Linked DNA regions of Homo sapiens: region 1 is linked to region 2. The links are contacts of gene promoters, found by promoter capture Hi-C in blood cells and fetal thymus (Javierre and others, 2016). All regions are on one chromosome and are shown on one strand. Each heading gives the region's core, a stretch centred on a gene start or on the middle of the fragment in contact. The rest is flanking DNA. Distances are from core to core; before and after follow the strand shown. Region 1 holds the start of RNF145 (ring finger protein 145). Region 2 overlaps PTTG1 (PTTG1 regulator of sister chromatid separation, securin).

Region 1 (7,415 bases), core at 1,657-4,156, 1.2 Mb after region 2:
GAAAACATTAGGAACAAGAAAGTGTGTGAAGAAATGAAGACATGAAAATTCTCCCTCATATTCCCAATGCTGGCTATCCAAGGTTCTTTGGATTTTGGCCCCAACATGTGAAATCCGTTATATCATTTTCTCTAGATTTAGAAGGCAGTGCATAATAAAGTGGCCATCAGTTCCTGCGGATTTGCAACACAAGACTATTTCTATGTGACTATTAGCAATAGTTGGCTCTATCAGGAATTCAGGAACGAGTCTTTTGGAATGGCTAGAACTGGAACATATATGCACTCTTTCAAACTTTGTGCTGACTTCCTCCTCAATGTTGGATGCATTTAGACAGGAAGGAAGATAACCTTTCGAATCCTGAATGGTCTGCCATTGGGCAGTCATAAACATACCACTTCTTTCCTTCTAGCACCCTGGGTAAGTTCCTTTTATGACCAAGCTGTGGCATTTAGACATTTCCTTATGTTTCTTCCAGGTACTTAAGGACAAATTTAGCTCCTGGCTTTTCCTGATTTGGGTGGGTTTGGGTGCCTCTAGAAAGTACTTCCTCTACACTTGATTGAGCTCTTTTATTTGAGCTGCTCTCGATTCACCCGCCCCACCCCCACTTCTTTTTTCTTTTGCGTTGCTTTTTAGTTCTGTTTAATTACCTGCTTCTGGCAATGTGGAGCTTTCCCATAACTGGATTAGCAGCACTATAATAGCAGTAACCCTTTCATTACCAGAGTAATTTTCTTTACTTGTTTTGAACTTCAGCATTTACAGGCAGCTGCTATTAAGTTAAAAGGTAAAAAGACATGTGACTTTTTCCTGCTTTTACAAGTCCAGAATACTTCCAGTGAGGGTTACAGGGCTTTGAAGCCATTTTCTCCACTTTAAAAAAAGGAAAGGTAAGAGCTGAAGTAGGCCTCTCCTCCATTTAAAACACAAATCCAGTTAGAGACCAGCCTGACCAACATGAAGAAACCCCATCTCTACTAAAAATACAAAATTAGCCAGGTGTGGTGGTGCATGCCTGTAATCCCAGCTACTTGGGAGGCTGAGGCAGGAGAATTGCTCGAACCCAGGAGGCGGAGGTTGCGATGAGCCAAGATCACGCCACTGCACTCCAGCCTGGGCAACAAGAGTGGACTCCGTCTCAAAAAACAAACAAACAAACAAACAAAAACCACGCAAATCCAGCAACCATACTTCCTTTTAGAATCACATTTTCAGGATTCTGCCATTTATCCAAGAATAATAAATAAATAAAGTTAGAATTTAGTGTTACGTTCATTTTGACTTCTTTGTAATCTGTTTCTGGCCTTAGGTTTTCTTGACTCAGTCAGATGTAAAGTTGTTAAAACAGGGAGGGGATCAAGATAAGGCCTTGCTATCTTGGTCCATTTCCTATTCCAGTCATTATTCATGTGACCTCTGTAATTTTTTTACTTACCAGGCTAGATTAAGAGACTCATGAACTGCATCACTGGGATGTGACAGGATTTATGACTATGGTGAAGTAGTCTGAGGCACCTGGATGAAAGGTGGTTATAGTGAGTTATGTACACAATTCCCACACATTTTAAACACTTGATTCCTACAGAGCTATCAAACTAATGGAAGGCAAGTTACTCAGAGTTTGGTTGACTGATACCTCCAGGGATTGCATTTTCTAAATACAGAGCTTGCTTTCACAATTTCAGCAGGATACAAGAGTGTTCAGAATTGGGGGTTTACCATTCAAAGGGCAGAGGCCAGAGACTTGAATTTACAAGGAGGGTCCTCAACACAGACATCGAGATTACAGTACATTAATTTCTCTTGCACATGAAGAAGTTGAGGCTTCACAATTTCAGCATGACCCAGTATAGTTGCAACATCTTACCCATCACTGGGTGTGTATCTTCTGTGTACACTGGCCCTTTCAACATCTAAGGCCAGGCTAGGTGCTCATAGCAACTGGCTCCCCAGGAACTAACGAAAGAGAAAGCAAGAAACAGTGGAGGGGTTTTGGTGATGGTGGAAGGCAGGGGAGATAGAAGTGGGGGTTGCAGAAGGTCGTGGTGAGGCAGAGTGGCAGACAAATGGGGAATGAGAAGTCTTGCCAAGCCCAGAAGACTATCGTTGTGTAAACACACAATATGCTTCAGGCTATGTATTCTGGGCAACAGTTCCTGCCCTAAAAGGTGTGGACATTTAAATTAGGGTAGGATTGCGCATTCTGTGATAGAGACTGGCACAGAGACAAAGTGGAACTCCTCTACGTTGGGGAGGGGAAAACATACATTAGCCTGTTTTGAACCTTAGACCAAGACAAGACAAACACACAAACACCATTTAATTTCATACTGCAATAAAATTCTTTGTACCAAACCATGGGATCAAAATTGTTACAGATACTCAGTGAACAGTTCCAATGCATTCATTCATCCAGTCACTTACTCCACAGGGGTTTGAGTGCCTGCACTTGGTGCTGGGCACGGCTGAGCCATCCCAGACGCCAAGGAGTTTACAGTCTAGTCCAGTCAGTGACGAGGTTAAAACGAATTCTCGCATCATTGCTACTGCGAATGCACCGGGACAGGATCAGCCCTTCAAATTCTCCCACGTGGTCCCTGCAGGTGAGTGTGGGTGTGAGCGCTTGCGGCCCGTGGTGTTTGGGAGTGAGAGAGCACGTGTGTCAGAATGGCGCCTGTCACAGTGCGCGTCCAGGTGTCTCTGCAGTACGCCTCTCCATAGCCACCCGAGCCGGGCTGTATGGGCTTGGCTAGGCTTATGTCTCCCGCCCACGCACCGGAGGCGGTGCGGAAAGCACTCCGCGGGCGCGATTGTGAGTGAGCGCGGGCGCGCGCGGGAGGGGCGCGCCGCGCTGGCTGGGCCGCGCGCAGGCGCAGAGTGCGGAAGTCGGGCCGCGGCCGCCGCAGAGCGCCGGGGGCGGGAGGAGCAAACGCAGGAGGCCATGGCCGCCGACGCCGGCGCCGGCTGCTAAGGGGCTCGGCCCGCGAGCGCCTGCTGCCGCGGACGATGGTGACCGTACGGGCCGGGCCGCTGCCGCTGCCGCTGCCTCCGCCTCCCCAGAAGCAACATCCGAGGCTCGGCGCAGAAGAGCCGCCGCTGTGAGCCGTGCCGTACCGGCCCCCGCCGCCGCCCGAGGAGAACGGGAGGGCGGGCGAGAGAGCCGGGGAGTTGCGGAGCCCGCCCGCCGGCAGCGCCGCTCCCCAGGGAGGGAGTCCGCAGCCTGAGGTGACCACGCCGCCCGCCCGGCCCCTTCCCATCCCCGCGCCCCCCGGCCGCTTCCCACGGCCTCCCTCCCCTCCCCCATCGCGTCGCAGGCTCCTTCCTCTTCTCCCTGTTCGCCCCTTTCCTTTTATCTCGCTTCACCTCCCTCTTCTCCCTAGCATTGGAGGAGTCCACATCCCCTCTTCAGCCGCAGCACCCCTCCCTCCCATCCTCTAGCTCTTCCCGCGGTGGTCGCCTCCCTCCGACCCTGCTCTCCCCTCCTGGGCCCCGCGCAAAGCCCCCTCTGTTCCAGCTCCCGGGCCTCGGCTGCCTCCCCGCCCTCCCATCCCTTCCTCTTCCCAGGGCCTGGAGCGCTCCCTTACATTCCTGAGATGCCCTTCCTCGGGGCTGTCCCCCTTTGCCTCCCCAGCATCCCATTTCTAGGCCTTTTTCAAGACCCTTCCAGAGCGGCCCCTTTCCAGCTCCCTTTCTCGTTTCCATTTCCAACTTTGCCTCTTTTGCCTCTTTGTTCACTTTGCTTCCAAGCTCCCCTCCCTCTTTCCCTTCGTCTTACCCTGCTTTGATCTACGCAGCCCCAAACTCAAGCTCCCCGCTTTCAGGTGGTGCGAGGTTGTTTGGGGGTGCGGAAGGGCCTGCCAGTCCATTTTTCGAGGGGGGCCCATTGCTCTGCATCCCGTCCGTCAGTCCCTTTTATAGTAAGAGGGCTCCTCATCCCTTCCTTTTTGTCCCCGTGGTTTCCTCTGTCTTGCCATCCCTTCTGTCTTCTCCCTCCAATACTGCTTTCCCCACCCAAGGACCCTCAGACCCGTGAACCCCCTTTCTGGAATGAGTTCCCTTTCTGTTCGGGGATGCTGAACTTCGCCCGCGTTTTTCTTCGCGAGCCTTTTGGTACGTGGCGTGGCGCGACAGAGTCAGCACCCTTGGCGAGATAGGAGGGGAGCTCTCGAGCCTCTTTCCTGGAAGAGTTTTTGCTGAACGTAATCTCTTAGCCCCGCGGCGGCGGCGGCCCGGTTGCTGCTGCTACTGCTGCTGCGCTGCCTGCTTGCCGCGAGCTGGGTTGGGGTTACTGTAGTTCAAACGCATCTGAGATCTGCAGGCGTTGTGGGAGGAGGTGCGGGGAGAGAGGAAGGGGCCTGTGCAGTGAGCAGGCATCAAAGATTAGTGGATGGCCTTGCGTCGCAGTCTGCAGTAAAGAGGAAACTAGTCTGAAAGGGAAGGAGAGGACTGTGTGTCTTTTTATTTTTTAAAATACGGAGTGTGCAGTTTTACTGAATCTTGAATCATGCCCAAAAGAATGAGCTGTCGGTGCTGCAGTCGTGACCCAGGCTGAGCGGCCGATGGCAGAGGTAGCAGTTTTATTTCCTCTCTCTGTTCCTTAAGTTGAAAGATGGCCTTTGTATTCAGAGTAGACTCCCTGTCTTTGCGGTTTGGGAGATGATGAGAAACCACAGAATTGCTAGTAGTTTATGTGGAGATCAGGTACATACAAAGTTAGCTAGCAAGGAGTGGGAGTGGGGAGGACCAGCTATATTTAAAACATGTGCCATTGCTTATGTAAGAAATGCGTTCTCTTTCCTGGTATCTCAGTTCTGGGCTTTTACTTAGAATTTTAGGCTCTAGCTTTGTGCTCTTAACATTTTCAGTGAGGCCTACCATCCTAACCGATGGACAGCCCGAAAATTTACTTTTCTTAAGATCAGTTTTAGTTGATGGTAGAATTTTTTTTTTTAACTGGTTGGGAGAAAGAAAGGAGATAATGGTGAATGATGATTTTTGTTTTTCTTTTTTAGGGGGAAGGTGTAGAAGTATTGTACTGAATAGTTTTAAGTTGGGTCACGTGTCATTCTTGTTTTTTCTTTGTCTTTTTAAAAAAAAGTTTAGGAGGTGTATTTTTGAAGAACTCAAATAAGAGAAATAAAAAATCACATTTTTCATTTCTCTTATTTGACATAGTTCTTCAGAGATTAGCTGTGACTGTAAAAACCTACATTTTTCTTATTCAGGACGATTTGTTTGGTTTCTTCATATTCAAAACTAAAATCCCGTATTTTCAGGAAAGTGTAGAATGAAGCCCCCTGTGTTTTCTAACCCACAAATTTGAATGGTAAACTGTACAGCATTATACTTCTACAAGACATTACTGTTTTCATAATTACGGATTGCTGCTTCTAAGCCTGAGAAGGTCATTTAATGAACTCATTGAGGTCTCCTTTTTGGTTAGCATTTGTTGCACCTCTTGTGGTTTTTGGAAAGAAATGCCTTTTTTTTTTTTGGTTTGTTTTTAGCTGTTTTACTGTGTAAAACATCTTTGAGTCACATTTAGTTTATGTTACCTGCAGACACATCATGTTGGATATTACTTTCCCAGTTCTTTTCAAAGTTCAAGGAGGACATTTTAAAATCTTGCATGGAAGATAAAACAGTATAGGAAGTTTATGTATTTGGCTTTGGGTGTGTTAAACCTTTCGGTTTTTTCTGCTTTCAGCTCTCCTGCTTATTTTCTAGGATTATTTGGTATTATTTTGTTTTCAAGAGAATATTGAGCTCCCCTGTACTTTAGGATATGCTGATTAGCCCTGTTTGACAATAAATCTGGAACAGGATAAATTAGGCAACATTATAAAGGTATTCTCTAGATCAGGAGAGAAGGCTCCATTTTACTTCGTGTTTGTATGATATAGTGATTTGGCAGGTGTGAGTAATTGCAAGTACTTGCAAAGAAGATGAATATTTTAAAGTTTTGTTTTGATGTTGGTTTAGTGTGTGGTGCTAAAGTGTAGTGTAAAGTACCTATTTGTATTGATAACTATCATGTGCTCTTTTACTTTAGAAGGGTTCAAAGTGATAAGGTTTTGAAATTTTTTTCTCTTTGATTTTCCATGTATTAAATTTGTTTCGTCAGTGCCTTTATACATGACCAGCTTGCCACTGACTTGCTAAAATAACATTCACGTATAGAAATAAATGCAACATTTAGTTTCGTTTATTTGGGCGTATTTAATTCTATCCAAAGTCCTTGTTAAAAACATTTCAGTCTCGAGTTGACTATGTAGTAGAGGGGGATCTTGGATATTGTTTTTTATTGACAGCTTTCGGGACCCGGTATTTTCTCTTTATAGAAATAGAAATGTGTCCTGTTTTCTGTTTCTTATTATATTTGTTAGGCAGGAGTGGTGGGTGGAAATAAAGAGGGAACATGTACCATTCTGCTAATGGACTTTTGTAATAGAGATGATCCTCTGTACGGATTAGGGAGTTTTTCTTCCCTAGCAGATCTTGATTTCTAAAGCAGGATTAGTTATTTGTTTAGTTTAAATTTTCTTCTTTACCCGTTTAGGAGCCACAGTAAATGGTGAAAATGGGCACATTTTAAAATAGCAAAGCATTGAAAAAAGAGAAAGGTTCCAAATCAAATGAAATAAATATGGGCTACAAGTGTTAAATCAGTAATAGCTCCTCCCTCTCTTGTTACTTATAAAAACAGAGTAATGATTTATATTGGATTCCAGAATATAGAAAAATAGTTACTTTTCGATGGCAGTATAAAGACTGTCAGTAATACTGTCATCTCAGTACGTGGTGATTTTCAAATATGGTGGCTGGTGGTTTGTGAGAAGATCTATTCAATATTACTTTGAAATAAATTCCCAAGAGGGTATTGGGTTATCAGTTTGCTCACCAAAGTAAGTCTTTCCACTGTAATTCCTGAAGTTATCTAGATGGCTTATACACATTAAAATGCATTAAACTCTTTACCAACAATTTCTGTGAATGTTTTGGTGTATTTTTTCCTGGGATTAGAAAAAATAATAATATCATGGGCTTTGAGAAATTTAGATTCCTCAGTGGTTGGTTTGCAATAAATATTAAAGGTTAGAGATTTTATTTTTCAGTGCATTTTTCCTTCTTAGGACATGATATTTAGTTCTGATTTTCACAATAATATTTTTTCTTATGTAGGAAAATTATGAAAATGATCTTGTTCATGTGAAATAATCAGAATTGCAGTACTTATCTATAAAAATGTTAAATCTATATTATTGGCAGGCTATATATATAAAACATTTGGGTTATGGGAATGGTTGATATATGATTATTGAAAAGCTTTTATTGATAGTGTGCCAAGTTGGGTTGCCTTTAGCTTTTTGACTATCTGAACTAGGAAGCTATGAAAATTGGAGGGTAAGATG
Region 2 (7,098 bases), core at 3,530-6,029:
CCCCACCACCTCAAAATTCATATGCTGAAGTCCTCACCCCCAGCACCTCAGAATATGACTGTATTTGGAGATGGGGCCAGTAAAGAGTTAATCAAGTTAAAACAGGGTCATCTGGGTGGGCCCTAATCCAATCTAACTGATGCCCTTAGGAGAAGGGGAGATTAGGACACAGGCAACACAGAGCAAAGACCGTGAGAGGACACAGTGAGAAGCCAGGGACATGACTACAATAGAAAAAGAGAGCCCTCAGAAGGAACCAACCCTGCCACACCTCGGCCATGGACTTCCAGCCTCCAGAATCGTAAGAAAATAAATGTCCATTGTTTCAGCTCCCTCAGTCTATGGTATTCTGTTATGGCAGCCCTAGCACACAAATATAACATCCATGTCAGGATTAGTCTTAAATTACATTAATTTATGGTAATTATACAAGGTCTTCAGGAACACAACCCTCCCATAAAACTCAACAGCCCTGTGTCTGAGTACCCGGTAGGCACCAAGCACCATGTAGTTTTGTGTCTGCTGCTTTCTTAGGTCCCCCTTCTTTCTCTGTCTCTTTTTCAAGGTATGAGTCCATGCCTGCCTTTCCCTCTCTCCCCTGTGGCATCTCACATACCACCCTCTCTGCCTCCAACTACAAGACTGAAATACGATGTGTTGTACGGCTCTAGTCACATGCCCAGTTTTCCAACTAGTAATACAGAACATCATACTCAACTAACTTTTCATCTTTCCAGTAAGATGAAGATGCTTCTTAGTCATGTGACCTGCCCCTGACTTATACCTCTGGGCTAGCGTCCCTACACTGCTGTCCTTTCTGGTGTCCCTCCCTGCAAGACTGCAGGAAGCCAGGAGCCAGCCTGGCTTGGGCTCTGAGCAGCATACCAAAGGCAGGCAGCTCTCACCTCTGCAGCAGGGCTGCAAAGCGGAGGTGAGCGCTGGTGCGTGCCATTGCCATGGAAACCCACTCCCACTCCTCGGGCAGCGGAGGAAGGTGGGGCCTGCGGTCTGTTCCACTATGTGATCTGAAAAGAGAAATGGCTCATCAGTCCCAGGCTCCTCTTGTAGGAAAAAGAGGCCTCTTCAGAAGGGAGTGTAGGCACAAATCCTCCCAGGAGCCTGTGCACACAGAGCCAAAGGGAGCCTCTTTGCACTCATTCTTCCTGCCGTGATTCAGTTCCACAAACTGATCATTCGTCTACTCCAGGCAAGACACTGGACTTGGAGACTGCAAGGATAAACAAGACCCATGTCCAAGTTCACTCTGGCTGGAAAGGAGAGACAGATCTGCTGTTTGATTGTTCCTGTTGCTTGAAAACATGCAGCTAAAGTCCCCAAAAGCCACTGAGTGTAGCATATTCTAAAGTTAGCTCTGGGCTTGCCAAGAGATGCCAGTCCTAGGAGCATCAACCATCAGGAGCAGAAAGAGGCCTGATAGATGAGGTGGCCCGCTTTGGGGATGTCTGCAGAGAAAAGCTGTGTCCGTGGTGGGAGAGGTGTTCCTCTCCTACCTGCAGTCATGAAAAGCTTTAAATGAACACATAAAGATAGGAATCTTCAGGAAGGGGAGAATGGCCTCTCACCCCCAGACACACACCAGCTGAGTTGCAGGAGAAATAGGTAAGCCTATGCTGGTGCCACCAACAGAACCAAGACTGGTGAGAGAGAGGGCTCTTGAGAGAGCATTCTGGGAGTATTTATTGTCCTTTTCAGCCTTCTCACTGCACTGCGGGGAGGAGAGGATCATCGGCATGTAGAGACTCACTGCAACTTAAAGATTGGCACCTGCTCCTGGTCCAGAGATTTCTCACGGTGGGGACCTGCTGGAGTACCCAGGCCTGCAGGGAAACCTTCACCCCATCCTGGTTCTGCAGCCCTCAAAGGGGATGGAAAAGATCCCAGTGGTTAATCATGGAAGGGCAGAGGCCTTGGACAGCCCCTGGACCAAGGAATAGAAGGGCCCACCTGGGAAAGGTGTGGGAAGAGAGGCAGGCTGCCATTCTCAGGAGGGACAGGGTTTTCAGCCGTGGAGAAGAGGGTGATTCTCTACACAAGGACCTCCCCATGAGCAGAGGCCACCAGCATCGTGCAGAGCACAACAGCCAGAACGAAGCCAGCACACTTCCCATAACCAACAAGTGGCCTGTCACACGAGCAGACTCTTTTCTCCCTCCAGCCGTCCTCCCAGGCTTGGGGCTGGACTAAGCCCCTATGAGGGTCATAACACCGGAAGGGGAGAAGGGACATGTGTGGTGAGCAGAGCATACACATGGGCTTTTGCCAAGCCCTCGCCTGTACTAGGGGAGAGGGAGAAGAGCCTGAAATAGGTGTGAACCTCAAGTTTTAAAATAAGCAAAGTTTAATTTTAACCAAAAGTAACTGGAAAGCTATGAAATCTGTCTGAATGCTGCTCAGCATCACCCACCACCCAGAAAGGAGGAAAGGAGAACAGGTCAACAAAACACAGTTGGTGGCAATAAAAAAAGAAAGAAACTCAGTTTATGTTTCCCCAGCAGAGCTGGAGCTTCTCAGTAAACAGGTTATACCTGGGCTTGGTGGGGCACAGACAGACAGGTGACCAGGAACTGTCTAGGGTAGGAGAAGCTGACCTCCTAGACCTGTGCCTGCCCCCACCACTCTCTCTCTGGAAACCTTGAAGTCAGGCTCCCTGGCCCTGATACCGTGTGATGCTAACAGTGGGTACAGTGCAGTCGCTGGGTCTCTAGAAACCTGGATCCCCAGGGACTGATGACATCTTTACTCATTTCAGCAAGTCCCTGAAGCACCTGCCACATGCCAGGCAGAGAATACACCAGTGCACAGGACACACCTCATCCTGCTCCCAGTAGAGCGGAGGAGAGGACCAGACACAGCCGAGCATGGTAAGTGCAAAGGCTTCTGGTAAGAAAAGCATCTCATTGGAGTACTAGAGATGGACAGGTTTGGCCAGGTGAATCAGGACAGGAAATTACACCCCCAAGGAGCCACCACAAGGCCGTGTGAGCCACACTGAGCAACTCAGACTTCATCCTGGTGGCAGAGGGACATCATTCCAAAGTAAATGAAGTGGGGAATGAGTGCTTGATGAGCATGGGTTTATTTTTGGGGGTGATGAAAGTGTTCTGAAATTAGACAGTGGTGATAGTTGCATATACTCTGAACTAAAAGCCACTGAATTGTACATTTTTAAATGAATTTTCTTATGTGAATGTTACCTCAAAAAAAAAAAAAAGGCCGGGCATGGTGGCTCACGCCTGTAATCCAAGCACTTTGGGAGGCCAAGGCCGGCAGATCACGAGGTCAGGAGATCGAGACCATCCTGGCGAACACGGTGAAACCCTGTCTCTACTAAAAATACAAAAAAAAAAAAAATTAGCTGGGCGTGGTGGTGGGCGCCTGTAGTCCCAGCTACTCGGGAGGCTGAGGCAGGAGAATGGCATGAACCCGGGAGGTGGAGTTTGCAGTGAGCCAAGATTGCACCACTGCACTCCAGCCTGGGCGACAGAGCAAGACTCCGTCTCAAAAAAGAAAAAAAATGAAAGGAATATCTAGAAGGAACTTTCAATTCCAATCAAGATGGAGTAACAGGGACCAGATTTACTCTCCTGCCTGAAACTAAAAAACAAGACAAAATATATGAAATGAGGGCTGCCCAAAGAGTGAACATCAGGCGACAGAGAACAGCGATGCCTGAGGAATGTGAAATAAGTGAGGTGAGGCCGATGACTATCCTTACTGGCTACTTTTGAGTTTCCAGGCCTCAGAGTGGGGAAGAAAGGGAGGCAGGCAGAGCCCAGTGAATTTCCTGAGTTGAAGAGACAGAGCAGAGTCAGGCCAAGGCAGGCCAAGTTTGCAGAGCAGAGCACTGGAGAGGAGAGAGCTGCACAGAGAGAACCCTGGAAATTTGCAGAGGGTCTCCCTGTAGTATTCAGAAGAGCACTGATCCATATAGCTGAAAAGATCAGAGGGAAGAATTCCTGAAGCCCACACAGGGCTGGGAATAGTGTCTGCTCCCACCAGCTAGACAGGAAAACCTCATAATTCAGGGGGCAGCAGAGTCCTAAGCATCTCACACTTCAGTAGTAGGGGGAAATGAGCCCTGGGCTAAATGCTGCTCTGGTGATGCCTAACATTAAAGGCAAGTCTCAAATGAATCAAATTGCTTCTAGGTACCTTACCCATACTCTAGAACAAAGTTTAAGAATATTAATAGAAATGTAAAAATACCCAGCATGAAAAAAGGTAAAATCCATGGCTGGCATGGAAAGTAGAAAAATACAACTTGTAATAAGAAAGAAGAAATGGTAGCAAGATAATGGCATTCCTGACTGTTAGCTCCTACTATAAGAAGGTACAGTATCCTGAGAGGCAGGCTCAGAGGTAGTGTAGAGAAATGCAGAAGGTTTACAGAGTTGTAAAGGTATGAATAAAGTCTGTCTTATTTCAAAAAGTGTCAGAACAAAATAGCAACAACCCCCACAAGATGCAAATTATCTGTATTAATGGAGGAGCATCTGCTTAAAGTTCTCAGTCTCAGCACACATTATGCACATTGCAATCTGATTAACAGCAGATGAAAAGATCAGATCCCTCTATACTCAGTTCTGACCCAGAGGACGGCAATTAACTGGTAAGGGACTGACTAGTCCCCTTGCTCCCAGCCCTTGGTTCCCTCTACCACAAAAGACAATTTTCCAAAGCTTCAGTTTGTGTTGCAGAGTATGAAAGCCATTCAGAACTACACTTTGCTTTTTTTGTTGTTTTTGTGAGACAGCATCTCACTCTACCACCCAGGCTACTCTACCACCCACTTTACCACCCAGTGGCATGACTATAGCCACTCAAGTTGTAAGCTTGAACTCCTGGGCTCAAGCAATCCTCCTGCCTCAACCTCCTGAAACTAGGACTACAGGCATGCGCCACCACACCCGGCTAATTATTTTTAATTTTTGAGAGACAAGGGTCTCACTACATGGCCCAGGTTGAACCCAAGCTCCTGGGATCAAGCAGTCCTCCCACCTCAAACTCTCAAGTGCTGGGATTACTGGTGTGAGCCACTGTGTCCAACCTATACTTTGGTTTTCTTAGCAGCCCTATTTTACCTGAGGATGCTAAACCTATTACTCTCCCCTAAAGCCAAGTGCCCTAGTAGTCTTATGGTATTATCTTCTCCTAGAAGTCTGCCTTTCCACTAATTCCAGAAAGTCACACTGATTCAGTTGTATTTAGAAGGTAAAAAGTTTTAAAGTCAGGATAAGCGGTTGTAGGTGTTCTTAGTATTTCATGCCTAATATCCTTCAGCTTCCTCCAATGACAATGGCAAAGTGTTCACATTCTAACTTGACCATAGAAGCTACTGATATATCAAGGGAAAGACTTCTTATATAACTTAGCATCAAGCAAGGGTCAAATTCAGGTTACTACATGGCCCAAGCGAGTAAAGTGAGTTAAGTAGGCTAGGTCTCAGAAGAGACATGAAAGGTAAAAGGATCACTTCAGTTCTCACTGAGGCCATTTAAGGCAGGGTCTGTGGGATAGAAAGCCTATACTCCACCTAAAAGGCAGCAGCCTGCAATCTACCTCCAGCCCCAGCAAGTGTTGGAAACAGGGTCTACTATGGACACATCTCTTTTCAAGAGAATCTCCAAAGCCAGATTGGTGAAACACTGGAATTTTAAATAGTGGAAATGATTAAGGTTTTTAAAATATCCACCCCCTCCCTCAAAAAGAAAACCTATGAGCAACCATTTGCCATCTCTATTTTGATTCCAACCTCAGAACTGAGATCAAAATACCAGCTCTAATAATTTTCTAGCTCTTCACATCTTTGACAAATCAATGAACTTCTGCGCTTCATTGTCTTACCTGGGAAAGTGTCAAACATTAAACATAATAATGCTTCTCAAATACTCATGTCCAACACAAGGTAAACAACTAAATACAGTTTCCTATAGGTGGAGTGTAGACCTTACTATCAGTAAATTATCTCCAGTGATCTTTAAGGAATCTAATTGAAGATCCCAAGGAGGCTGAATTCTCAGATTTAGAGCCTTTCAATACTGAGTATTAAAGTCATTAGAAACTAAGTAGAACCGGCAATAAAGAATGCCCAGCAATAGATACTTAATGAGTTGGAAGTAGCTCTTCTAATTAAGAGATCTAATAACTGTCACTAGTTAATGGCCACAAAAAGTCAATAAAGTACACATTGAGGGGTATACTTTTCAGGAAAAAACAGTGGCAGCTTCTAAAATAAGCTGTTAAACCAAAAAGATTTAAGTTTTTAGACATCAGACAAATCTCTATTGTCACATTATAGACTCTTTGTTAAACACCTCAGCTAGCTTTCATGTTATTTTAAGTAACCTCCATGGAAAAGCAACCACAATACTAGGAAGAATCTGTTAAAGAATGCTTTATTAATACAAATACACACAAACTCTGAAGCACTAAGAAATTTAAATATCTATGTCACAGCAAACAGGTGGCAATTCAACATCCAGGGTCGACAGAATGCTTGAAGGAGACTGCAACAGATCTAGAAAACAGGAATCTCTTATTAAAATTTCTGCAAATCCTTGAGTCATTGTCCATATCAACATAGACATTAGCTGTCAATCAAAAATTCATGTTTTTCCCTTTGTCAAATCAATCACCTGCATCCCCTCCTGACACATTTTTTGGAATGTGTCTGTGGCCCCAGAATTGACTTTCATTAGGAAGTAAGTTTTAGAAGTATCTGAATCTCTATTGTTCTTAGAGACCAAAGTAAGAGTTAACAGTCTCACTAATGTAACTTATTAGGACAAATTATCCCACATCAGAACAAACAGAAAACATAATGTTGGCTTTGACTACCAGTTCAAACGAAGACCTCAGACCTTCTGCAGTAAGAAGTTATTGTCAGTCTATGCTACAGCACAGGTGTTTTGATCTTATATTAGCTTTGGATATAACATGGAATCATCATTCCAAGCAAGTTTATTATATATGCTTCAACTTATAGCCTAAGAAGATGTAAGTGAGAATTAATCTTTTGGCTGTAGTAAGACTATCCAGTTTCCAGAATAACAATTTTACTGGGGCATTTGGGACTGA

Evidence for each region. The method cuts DNA at HindIII sites, captures the fragments that hold promoters and counts their contacts. A CHiCAGO score of 5 or more calls a contact.
Region 1: a contact is called between the fragment with the promoter of RNF145 here and a fragment that was not itself captured in region 2, in 1 of 17 cell types (total CD8 T cells). The highest score is 6.1, in total CD8 T cells.

The regions. Positions count from the first base shown.
Region 1 is chr5:159,205,044-159,212,458 of GRCh38, reverse strand. It overlaps RNF145 (ring finger protein 145), which reads left to right and starts at 2,906. Exons shown (of 11, transcript NM_001199383.2): 1 at 2,906-3,228. It overlaps LOC107986468 (a long non-coding RNA gene), which reads right to left and starts at 4,432. Exons shown (of 2, transcript XR_001742943.2): 1 at 3,779-4,432; 2 at 2,307-2,600. RefSeq lists enhancers at 2,434-2,533, 4,121-4,240, 4,351-4,400, 4,491-4,540, 4,140-4,795 and silencers at 2,704-2,993, 3,034-3,223. The HindIII fragment of the contact is 10,196 bases long and covers 1-7,331 here.
Region 2 is chr5:160,428,042-160,435,139 of GRCh38, reverse strand. It overlaps PTTG1 (PTTG1 regulator of sister chromatid separation, securin), which reads right to left. Exons shown (of 6, transcript NM_004219.4): 6 at 6,401-6,538. The coding sequence ends at 6,459. Among named protein-coding and RNA genes, the nearest start is that of PTTG1, 9.7 kb to the right of the region's middle. RefSeq lists enhancers at 642-1,081, 2,621-2,710. The HindIII fragment of the contact is 153 bases long and covers 4,703-4,855 here.